Regions from separate parts of the Homo sapiens genome. Here regions 1 and 2 are each linked to region 3. The links are contacts of gene promoters, found by promoter capture Hi-C in human tissues and cell types (Jung and others, 2019). All regions are on one chromosome and are shown on one strand. Each heading gives the region's core, a stretch centred on a gene start or on the middle of the fragment in contact. The rest is flanking DNA. Distances are from core to core; before and after follow the strand shown.

Evidence for each region. The method cuts DNA at HindIII sites, captures the fragments that hold promoters and counts their contacts. A contact is called where the count stands out against the background at its distance.
Region 1: a contact is called between a fragment that was not itself captured here and the fragment with the promoter of MRPS31 in region 3, in 1 of the 25 tissues and cell types used here (dorsolateral prefrontal cortex).
Region 2: a contact is called between a fragment that was not itself captured here and the fragment with the promoter of MRPS31 in region 3, in 1 of the 25 tissues and cell types used here (dorsolateral prefrontal cortex).

What each region holds. Positions count from the first base shown.
Region 1 is chr13:39,412,364-39,416,106 of GRCh38, reverse strand. All of the region lies in intron 2 of LHFPL6 (LHFPL tetraspan subfamily member 6), which reads left to right. Among named protein-coding and RNA genes, the nearest start is that of LHFPL6, 190 kb to the left of the region's middle. The HindIII fragment of the contact is 3,525 bases long and covers 1-3,134 here.
Region 2 is chr13:39,562,601-39,566,327 of GRCh38, reverse strand. The region is part of intron 2 of LHFPL6 (LHFPL tetraspan subfamily member 6); the gene reads left to right. Among named protein-coding and RNA genes, the nearest start is that of LHFPL6, 39 kb to the left of the region's middle. RefSeq lists enhancers at 92-1,291, 1,844-2,344, 2,345-2,845. The HindIII fragment of the contact is 6,061 bases long and covers 1-3,727 here.
Region 3 is chr13:40,769,451-40,773,656 of GRCh38, reverse strand. It overlaps MRPS31 (mitochondrial ribosomal protein S31), which reads left to right and starts at 2,467. Exons shown (of 7, transcript NM_005830.4): 1 at 2,467-2,672. The coding sequence starts at 2,521. RefSeq lists an enhancer at 2,409-2,578. The HindIII fragment of the contact is 6,562 bases long and covers 1-4,206 here.

The DNA.
Region 1 (3,743 bases), core at 123-2,622, 1.4 Mb after region 3:
TTGCAATTTACATTTGCTCAGTACTCTAACTTCAGTCGTTACCCAAGGAGACTGCATAATCTCATTTCTTGGACATTTCTTCATTTCACATCCATTCTGTCATTATACACTTGCTATGGACAGAGAATCTAGGGGTGATGTCTGAAGGACCTTTCTAGTCCTGATTCTGCAAATATCTAAGCATCAAATGTCTACTCAAGGTAGGTAAGTATTGTTTTCTTTCTTTCTTCGTAATGTATTGAACAAAGTTCAAGGAGGCAAACTGGCTGCAAATGAGAAAGGCTTGAAAAGTGTCAAGGTTTAGACTTCTCACTTTGAATTCAGCACTGAGACTATGAAGCTTTGCTGCTTGTTGTATTTATTCTCCCATTCATTTATGCATTTATTAATCCTTCATCCAGTACACCTTCGGTTACTGCAAAACTATGAGCCAGACACTGCCCCAGCTGCCAAGGGGAGCAAAGATATGCCAGAAAGCCACTGCCCCCTGGAGTTCAGTCTGGTGGGGCACCGGGATGCTTCTTTGCAAGCACAGTTCTTAATTTCAATTCATGAAGGACTTAAGTGTTTCTTCAGCTTGCTTTTGTTTTTTGTTTTTTTTTTTTTCAGTATTTTTATGGCAAGCTGTCTTTGCCAGCAGAGGAATACACTATTAACATGTTGAACACAGACCTGAGTTCTTCCACATGTGCGTATGCATACACATGCATGTGCATACACATGCACAAAAATTTGTTTTTCCTCAACTTTGCTGAACTACTTTTCCTTCAGTTATCGGCTGAGGCAATATAGTAGTATGCAAGCTTTTCAGAAATCCAACGGGATTCATGCCCAGCTGAGTTATTTCACTCTGCGTTCTGTGTCAGTTCCTGGAAATTAACAATAGAGCATTTCACTTTGGTCTTTGATCCCACCAGCTCAGTCATGGTATTTTTCCAGATGTTTCCGTCTTAGGTTGCTATTACAAAAAAGCACAGCACAAGTTAAACTAGGACAAGTTGGCCTGTCCTGGGGTCTGAGGAATGTGTTTTCCACCAAATAAACTGGTCATGTGCCACAGACGGGTTAGAAAGGGAAACTCAGACTTTATAATCAGAGTGATCCTTTTCATTGTGTGTTTAGGAAAAAGTACCATGTCCACCCCCAGTAATTTGACTCAAGACCCTGTAGCTTCTCAAAGACATTGATTTGGCCTGGTTCTAGTAAAAATGATTTGTGTTTTGAAATAAGTTACCATGCTATTTTCTCTCAGGTTAATTTACCCTAGCCTGTATAATACTCTTAGGGGTCTAAATGCCAACAGGCATAGGAAAAAACCTCAGTTGCCAGTAATTATATCATTTAGGTGGTTGGGCAGAGATAAGACAAATAATTGGTGTTATCATGCCTTCTATCCAAGTTTTGTAAGCAAGAATTTCATAGCATGTTTTAACACAAATGGCAAAAAAAATAAGCCCACAGCAGCTTGAAGCATTATATGTGAAATTTACTAAACTAGAAATAAGAAGAAGAAGTGAAAACAGTACCCCAAGAAAGTCCCAGAAGACTGATAACACCAAATGCAGGGGCCCTTGCTCTACCTCAACTCCAGCCCAAATCCACCATGAAGACTCCCTCAGTTGTCCTGAAACACATGCCCTGAAGCATAATGTGGTATTATAAAATAAATTTCCTGAAAAATGACAAGATAAGCTTCTAATGAACTGTGGCTAAAATCTGATACTGGAAAGAGGAAGATGGAAGATGGAATTAGGAAGATGTTGTGTGAATGTTGACACATATTCTCACAGCTAATGCTTATTTTATTAAGCATTTCTCATTTGGTTTGTGCTACTACTAACTCATAACATTATTTATTGAGCTTGATTTCCAAATAGGTAATATCTTTCTAAATGCTTTTATACCCTGTGATCTGGCAATTTCACCCCTCCATATAGTCCATACAAAAATGTATAGATATGTGAATGAAACGGCATATGAGAATGTTCCCAGAATTATTTTTTTGAGCAATCAAACACTGGAAATTGTCCAAATGCCTATGAACAGTAGAGTGGATAAATTGTGGTATATTCACATAATGAAATGCTATGCAGCAATGAAAATAAACCAATTCTAATTATACTCATCACTATGGATGAGTCTCGTAAACATAAATTTGAGTCAAAGAAGCCATAGCAAAAGAGTCCATAATTTATGATTCCATTTATTTAAGTACAAAGAGAGGCAAAACCAATCTATTTTGTCAGGAGGTAGGATAACCCTTGGGAAGGGGTGGTGATTAAAAAGGAATAGAAGGAAGGCTACTGGGGTGCTGGTTGATTCTTTTTAATGTTTGTAAAGTTTACATGGTGTCTTCAGCTTATGAAAATTCCTTGAGCTCTGACCTTATATGTACACTTGTCAATATGCATGTTAGAGTTTAATACACTTGTGCAAATGCAAACATATGTTCACTTATTAAAGACAGCAACACAACAGAAAAATTCATTTAAAACTTACTTAAAGAAAAAAAAAAAAAAAACTAGTCGGTTGTGATGACACACGCCTGTAGTCCCAGATACACAGGAGGTTGAGGCAGGAGGATCTCTTGAGCAGAGAGGTTGAGGCCAGCCTGGGCAACATAGTGAGACCCACCCCCCCTACCCCCAATTCCTAAAAAAAAAAAAAAAAAATCCTGAGTAGTTTCGGGTTTGACATTTAAATAAGAACATAATTTACGAATATTTTAATCTTATTTTCCTACTTTAAAGATTAGGATATTTTCCTGAGTACATATCAATGTGGATACATTTCATAGTTATTATTTGACCACAGGCTCTGAAGAATTGGCATAAAATATTGCATAATACAAGTATGTTAAATTGGATTAAAATGAATAACAAATGCTATTTTTCCTTCGTTAAATATTCCAGATTTCTTTGATTAGATATCATCTCTCCCTCTTTTGAAAGTCCACAATATGTTGTATTTCACTTAGCGATGCATATATTGTACTACTTTGTATTATGTCTAATTTTATAAACTCCTTGGGGTAGAGTTAGGGCTCGTTCATCTTTGAATCTACTGTGATATCTGCAGAAGGCAGGTGTAATATAGTGAAGATGTTAAGAGAGTGCCTACTGGTGCTAGACATGGGTTCAGGTTCCCTTGCTGCCATTTACAATTTTTTTCTTTTTTTTTTTTTGAGACGGGAGTATTGCTCTGTTGACCAGGCTGGAGTGCAATGGTGCAATCTCGGCTCACTGCAACCTCCGCCTCCCGGGTTCGAGCAGTTCTCTGCCTCAGCCTCCCGAGTAGCTGGGATTACAGGAGCCCGCCACCACACCTGGCTAATTTTTTAATTTTTAGTAGGGACAGGGTTTCACAATCTTGGCCAGGCTGGTCTTGAATTCCTGACCTCGTGATCCACCCGCCTTGGCCTCCCAAAGTGCTGGGATTACAGGCGTGAGCCACTGCACCTGGCCTACAATTTGTATAAATTTGGGGAAGTAGTCTCTCTGTACTTCAGTTTCTTCTTTATAAAATGGGAACAATTGTGGCATCTGCCTCTTAATGTTGTGAAATTAATCAATCGCCAGAAAGCTCTGAGGACAGTTCCCAAAACATAGTTAGTTCTCAAGAATTGCTAGCTGCTATTTTTAGGCATGGTAGTATAATTAAGATTCCTGCTGTGATTCCTGAATGAGAAAAAGAAAAGAAAAAAATTAGAAAGACTTAGAAGTAGTGGTCAGTCAAAAGTCATA
Region 2 (3,727 bases), core at 484-2,983, 1.2 Mb after region 3:
TGATGCCTAGCAAGTAGAAAAATCCAGTTGCCTTATTAGAACTTAACAAAAATGAATGAGTTAGAAAATTAGCAGTCATGTATTCCTCTGTTCTGTACAGCTAAATACAATTTCCAACTTCTTAATGAGGGGCTGAGAGTTCTGTATGAAGACTTCTACCTCCTTTTTCTGTTTTTGTTCCAACAGGATAAAATCATGTGTTTGACATGTTGAACTTGAGAGGCACATACTTGCCATAATAAGTATACATGGTTTTTCAAGTTCCTAAAAGTCCTTTCTTCATTTGTTTGAGTCTATGTTTCAGATAGATCCTAGGGCATAATAATTTAAAAATCCAATTAAACCATAAAACAAAATGTCCTTACTGTTTTTCTGTTGATTTGGTCTCTTTTTATTTGGCAGCAAAGTTTCTTCCTGTTGTTATTTCTCATGTGACTCCCGTGAACTGGTGGGTCCTGGAATCCCCACGTACAGTGGGTTGGAACCCATTCTGCCTGGGAGCCCCAGTGTAGGTGGCTGAGGCAGTGAGTCAACAGCACTGGAATTTGCTTGCTTCAGAGTGATAATTCTCATGCAAATAGTTCTCAGTTTTTCAAAAGAAGGGCTTGTCAGCCTCATACTTTCAAAGTGACTCTGCCAGGAATTTACAGTTTTACGAGATTATACATAGAATGTTCTGTTATAATAATCAAATGTTCATTCAGAAATAACCCAATTAATGCAGACTGTACAACAGATCGCCACCATTTGCACCAAAATTCCATTCAAACTACAATTCCCTTCTCCACTGTTTCTTTGGTTCTTTCCTCCTCATTCAGCAGCTTGTTTTCTGCTGTCTGATAGTTATGCCAACATTCCATCTTATTTTAACAACTACACAAATATAAAAACCACAGCACCAAAATTGAAGTTGGAGCTTCATTTTGTACTATTTAAGAACTGTATTGTCGTATGTAATTTGCAGTAAACTTGAACACAAAATGAAATTTAAAAAACCTTTCTTTTTGCCTGTAATGTTTAGAAATGATGTTCTCTTTGAACTGTACTGGATTTTTTTTTTTAAGGGTACACTATCATTCTATGATGAAATATACTGTAATTCAACTAATTCAACTGCTTTTTCTCTGTTTTATCTTTCTTGGCTTATTGTCCTCCTGGATATAAGATGATATAGATGGCAAGCTTATTTCAGGACAGTTTGTTTTTTATTCTAAGCAAATGGTAGTTTTTAAACAACAATGGTCATTTTGATCTTTGGAGATCGGTCTTCCATTCTTAGAGCATTGGAATGTAGAAGAGATGTTTATGCCTTGGGATTGCCACTCATCCAGAGCCACTCCTCTGTGAGAATACAATCTTTGATTTGTTGCCCTTTATATTTACTTTACTTCTTATTGAACGATGTCCACTATACAATAGCAAGATATAATAAGGTATAGAGACAGAGTTTACAGAACCTTGCCCCATTAGCATTTTCAAATTTTGTCACATCAGAGTTAGTATACTGCTCCAATTTTCAGAAGAACATAGCTCATTGGCAGAAGGTGGAAGTAGTGTTCTTAACCCTTTTACATAAAAGGCTACTTAAATAAGCAAACTTAATTCTTCCATCAGCTTTTCTATTTTCTTAAGTGCAAACTGACTTTATTTACCCATGGTTAGATACTTTTGACTTACATATTTCCCAAAGGCAACCAAAATGGTATAATAGCGTAGTGCAATTTTATGGGAGTCTCTTTGGCACCATAGTAATTCTTTTTGATCTACAGTTCACCTCTGGGTATGGTGGCTACGGGTGGTGCATCACAAGCAGAGTCAAAGGCCATTTTTAATGCTCTTGGGTTTTGTACTGCATGGGCCATTTTTTGAAGTTTAGAAATATGAAGATGCACATATTTGTTGCTCTGGCCCAGTATTGATATCATAGGCCAGATGGGTTTGAGATAGAGAGCACATACATATTTAATGTTCATTTTTATTCTTTATTGCCTCTAGTGGAAGGACTCCAAAGAGGTCATCTCATTTAATCTTGGCAATAGATTTTACCATTTTTTAAATCAAATACTCCCCATTAAGCACTCTATATTTATAATTGTGTGTTAGGTGCTATATTCAGAGTGTACTAAACAGACTTTATTCCTGGCCTTGACAATTTGTCTGCGGATTTGGCCAAATCTGTGCTGTATTTCTTTTGAACAAAAATAAAATGCTCCAGAGGAAAACAGCTCCCAATCTCCTGGATTTAATGACTCTCGATGGTGGGAAGCCTTCCAGTGCAATGATAATAGCAGTCCATGTTTACTGAGTGTTCACCATGGGCTCAACGTGATACGGGGAGACTTACACCATTTTTATCACCTTTGGGGGATATACAACAAGTGTCTATTCTCTCACATAACCGCCCTAGGGGATAGTGTCTATTAGCCTCATTTTCAGGGGAAAAAGCCGAGGCTCTGAGAAGAAAAGGAACGTGCCATACCTCATTCTTAATTTTGTTTTCAGTCCCCTGAGTTAGCTGGTACACTTTATGACCTGAAAGCATGAATAGAATCTGTTACCCTGGCAGGAATAATAAAACACAGAGACATGACAATGGATTAATAAAGATCTGATGAGGAGCAAAAACCTCCCAATCACCCTAAGAAATGCTGCTCCCAGGGAAGTAGAAATTATGTTCTGAGTCCCATATTTCCACTTTGCCTGCCTGTTTTATTCTTATTAGCCAAGAAGGCGTTAAAATATGCAATGATTCTGCTCTTGAGAATGCCTCTATACTGCTGACTTGTGAGCTTTTACCCTCTAAGAATATTTTTGCTCCCTTGCCTCATTATCTAACACCTATTTGATCTGTATAAGTCACTTATCAACCCACCAGACTCATGTATTCTAGTCACTTAGGAATATGCTTGCTTTTTTCCTGTGCACAAGATGTATCTCTCTATTTTGTTTCTGTCATCTGCAGATTTAGTGACTTGGGGCAGCATGGACTGTCACAGAGGGGTTTTCTTGTTTGATCCATTCTTCTACTTTTCTGCTTTTATATGATCTATATAATTTAAAGTTATTGGAATTCCAGCTCCCTTTTATTTTTAGTTTAATCCTGATTTTTATTTTTAATTTAATTAGCTCTAATTTTTTTAAAAAGACATTTTTAACATTGTTGCTTTGCTGGATAATTCAGAGATGCTGTGTGTGTGTGTGTGTGTGTGTGTGTGTGTGTGTGTGTGTGTGTGTGTTTCTAGTATTGCCCCATGACCTTTATGACTCATTTAATGAGGAATTTAAACAAATTACTATTACTCCTACTGCATTCATTATCAACTAGCAGGCATCAGCTTTCTGCATAAAATATTTTTTTTCTTTGAATACCCTCTATTTCCCCTCTGTGAGGAATTTATTCTCCCCTTGGTGCATGGGGACAGATTATGTTCATAATAGCCATTAATGATAATAGGAAGAGTGTGTAAATCTTTGAAGCATTGAAAACTGAATGGCGCTCTGGTGGGTCTTTTTCTGTGTCTTACCTTACTAGATTTTGTTTTGCAGCAGGTGCTATTGGTTGGGTAAAGTGCCGTTCCTCATGTTTTTCTCTTTATTCTATACACGTAGTGTGTGTGTGTATATATATATATGTGTGTGTGTGTGTGTATATATGTGTGTATATATGTGTATATGTGTGTATATATGTGTATATATATGTGTGTATATATGTGTATATATGTATATG
Region 3 (4,206 bases), core at 1,218-3,717:
GGTAACTATTAAATGTGATCCACATGGACTGCTTATTATACTCAAGAATGGATTTTCCACTGGGTATCAAGTGATATCAAGGAAAGTATGCTGTACTGCTAATATTCTATTTCTTGATCCAGGTGGAGGTTTATATGGGTGAATTAACTCTGTGATCATTCCTTAAACACATTTTTGGTCAGGCACGGTGGCTAATGCTTGTAATCCCAGCACTTTGGGAGGCCAAGATGGGAAGATCACCTGAAATCAAGAGTTCGAGACTAGCCTGGCCAACATAGTGAAATCTGTCTCTGCTAAAAATGCCAAAATTAGCTGGGGGTGGTGGTGCACGCCTGTACTCCCAGCTACTCGGGAGGCTAGGGCAGGAGGATTGCTTGAACCTGGGAGGTGGAGGTTGCAGTGAGCTGAGATAGCACCACTGCACTCCAGCCTCGGTGACAGAGCAAGACTCCATCTCAACAATAACAAAGATACATTTTCATCAACATATTTATAATTCATACACTTTTCTGTATTGAAGTTGCTAAAGTTTATAGGAGGCCGTAGTTTTGGACAAGCTTCCTGTACTAGCCCCCAGCACACCAGAGCAAACCAGAATAGTCACTTGTGCTAAGTGCCAAGTAATCAAACTGAACTTTGAAATCAGGGCCAGTTTTCCAAAAGCAGGAGATTCACAGCACCAATCAGAGGGGCCCTAGTTTACCTGAGCCAGCATGACAAGGAATCCCTCTGTTTTAACCCTATAAGGAAGGTAACTTTGAAATGACCAATCTGATTTTTGTTCCCTGTTTCTATTTTCTTCAACTCTTTTGTGCTTGTAAAGCCAAACCCCTCTGCTCAACTCACTGGAACACTATTCTAGAATCACAAATAAAAACCAATTATGCTAAATTTGCCATAATTTTGTTTTTTGACAAAGTTATGCTTTAATTTTTGTTTGTTTTTTTACAAATCAGACAAAGTAAGCATCCCCAAGTGTACTGTGTAGAGCATTCAGTCACAAAGGTTCTGTTAGTGTTAGTGGATCTCAGGAAGATCTGCTCAATGTAAGCTGTGTTTTAGTATCACAAAAACTCACCTCCCCACCTTGATTATTTTTTGAGAGGACAGGGAAAATGTTGATGTAAACTTTGGAATGCCTTTATGGAATTTTAGGCTAGTGGTTCCCATGTGTCCTATTAGCCAACATTTCCCACCAGATTTATTCTCATCCCCTTCCAAGTTTGGGAACCCCACATCTCTTCTGGGGTCACAGTTCCCTGTTTCATGAGGGACAGGTAAAAGCCAAGTCTCTCTCTTGCATCTTTTCATCCTTTTTTTTTTTTGAGACGGGGTCTCACTCTGTTGCCCAGGCTGGAGTGCAGTGGCACAATCTTGGCTCACTGCAGCTTCCGCCTCCCGGGTTCAAGCTATTCTCCTGCCTCAGCCTCCCGAGTAGCTGGGATTATAGGCACTCGCCACCACGCCAGGTTAATTTTTGCATTTTTAGTAGAGTCAGGGTTTCACTATGTTGACCAGGCTGGTCTTCACCCCTGGCCTCAAGTGATCTGCCCGCCTCGGCTTCCGTAAGTACTGGGATTACAGGTATGAGCCACTGTGCCCCCGGCGTAAATCTTTTTTTCTTTTCTTTTTTGTTTTTTTGAGACAAAGAATCTCGCCCTGTAGCCCAAGCTGGAGTGCAATGGCGCGATCTCGGCTCACTGCAGCCCCCACCTCCCGAGTTCAAGCGCTTCTCCTGCCTCAGCCTCCCCAGTAGCTGGGATTACAGGCGCCCGCCACCACGGCCGGCTAATTGTGTGTGTGTGTGTGTGTGTGTGTTTGTATTTTTTTTTTTTTTTTTTTTTTTTAGTAGAGATGGGGTTTCACCATGTTGGCCAGGCTGGTCTCGCACCCGTGACCTCAAGTGACCCACCCGCCTCGGCCTCCCAAAGTGCTGGGATTACAGGCGTGAGCCACCGTGCCCGGCCATAAAGCTATTTTTGAAAAATGAAACCTATGTCTCATTTTGACTCTACATCAAAAATAAAGACTGAAAGGAAACGCTAATTCATAGGGCAGCAGGTCTTTTAGTAATTTTTTTTAAACCTCTTTGGTGGCCATGGCGCATTTTGAGAACGTGGTGAACGCTGTAGACCCTTCCCCTCCAAACATCGCAAAATATTGTCTGTTAAAGAAGAGACTGATCTCACTGGCACCATCTGTAGTTTTTGCACAACTGGTCACGCCCTCCACTGTCGGGTTCGCCGGTCTGGGACCCGCCTCGGCCAGCGAACCTTTGCTGAACTCTGGCGAGGACTCCGCCTCTAGGACTACAATCGCGGGGTGGGTCGGGTCGCTTGGAGGCAACTGGCTCCGCCCGGCCGCGGGCGAGTCCGGAACACAGTTACCCGCCCCTGTAGCCCACCGGAGCGCAAAGGGGGAGGAAGGCGCCAGGCCGGAAGCGGAAGAGAGGGCGGGGACGTGTTTGGCAGCGGGACGCACCATTTCAGTTGTGTTCTTGGTTCATTTCGTGTCTCGGCGATGTTTCCTAGAGTCTCGACGTTCCTACCTCTTCGCCCCCTTTCCCGCCACCCTTTGTCCTCTGGAAGCCCGGAGACATCAGCGGCTGCGATTATGCTACTCACTGTTCGGCACGGAACAGTCAGGTACCGCAGTTCAGCGCTGTTGGCCCGGTAGGTCCTCAGGCAACCCCGTGCCCCGTCCTGTACATCCTCCGACTTCCTGGGGTCGATGTTACCACCTGCTGGGTCTTAGAAGCTATTGCTTTAAATCTGAGGAAAGAGAAATCCCAGAAAGAAAAGATGACTTGCCCAAGGTCATAGTGTGCGTGAAAACAGAGCTACGATTACAAACCTGGTCGCTGTGCTCTACTACACGCCGCGCCTCATTCCTCTTGTCATCATCTCCTGTCAGTTTACCCAGGTTTTTATCTTTTGCCTCCCAAGATTTATTTGATAGTCTCATTTGTTTTCCTTCATTTATTCTTTAGTTCATTACTGAAAAACTCGAAAAACAGCGTGCCAGTACTGGTTGTAAACCCCAAGTGAGACAGTCCTGCCATCACGGAGCGTGTAGTTCCAGAAAGTAGACAATTCAAGTGCTATGTAGTGAAGTAATAGCTGAGATAGTGTAGGTAAACAGAGTACACTATTCAGCCAACATGAATGAGTACTTGCTGGGATAGCAAATAGGGACACCTAACCATTATAGGGGAGACTCAGGATATCGTTTCTGGAAAAGTCTGACGAAATCTGAAGGAGGACCACTGGTTGAAGTTAGCCAGGAAAAAAGGGAATTGTGGCATACTTGGTTTTGGTATTTATCCTCCGAGAACTTTATTATGAAAACCTAATTCCGCTGCATAAATTCCATGCGTAACACTCAGAAGGCAGTTTGGTTAAGTACAGTGCTGAAGCAGGTTAGTAGCAGTGAAGATGGGAAGGACCAGCTGAATGGAGGAGAAAAATTGCACAGGTAGAATTAAAGGGATGTGACGTCATGGGATAATGGTAGGGTAGTCAGAGATAGCAAAAATTTCAACTGGCTGCGTTGGAGTATTAGGGTATCCTTAATGTTAACAGAAGAATGCGGAGCCAGGCTTGAGAAAGATTTTTCCATATATTATAATTTTTAGAAAACAACAAATACCTGTTTATGTTAGGGGGCCTTTTAATATAGAAAGTGTGAAAAATGGAAAGTCAGTCTGAAAGAGGAGTCTTGAATGTGGTGTTGAAGGTGTTGCATTTGAAGTACTGATGAGCTGCTGTCAGTGGAAACAAACTCAGGTGGGAGGTTAGGTCGAGAGGTTTATTATTTTTAGTGCTAGGGAGTTACTTAGACGTGATTTTCCTATAATGTAGATTGTTTTCTGTGGTATGATAGCAGTCTTGAAAGAAAACATTGTAGTAAAGATTACATGTGAGATTCATTCCCCTGATTACCACTTTTCTATTAAAATACCTTGAATAGTAACTTTAAATGTAAAATAATGACCATTTTCTTAAATAGATTGTACCATATATTGAATATTATAATGAGAGTCCTGTGTACTGATTATGAGGATACTAGTTATGCAGTTGGTTTTTTATTCTAATTTTTAAGTGCCTGATTTGATAGCCTCTGACGTTTTCATAAGCAGATCAAATAGTTTCAGCATTTTTTGAAATTGCCATTTTCTCTTTCATGTAAGTATCCTTAACCTGCGGC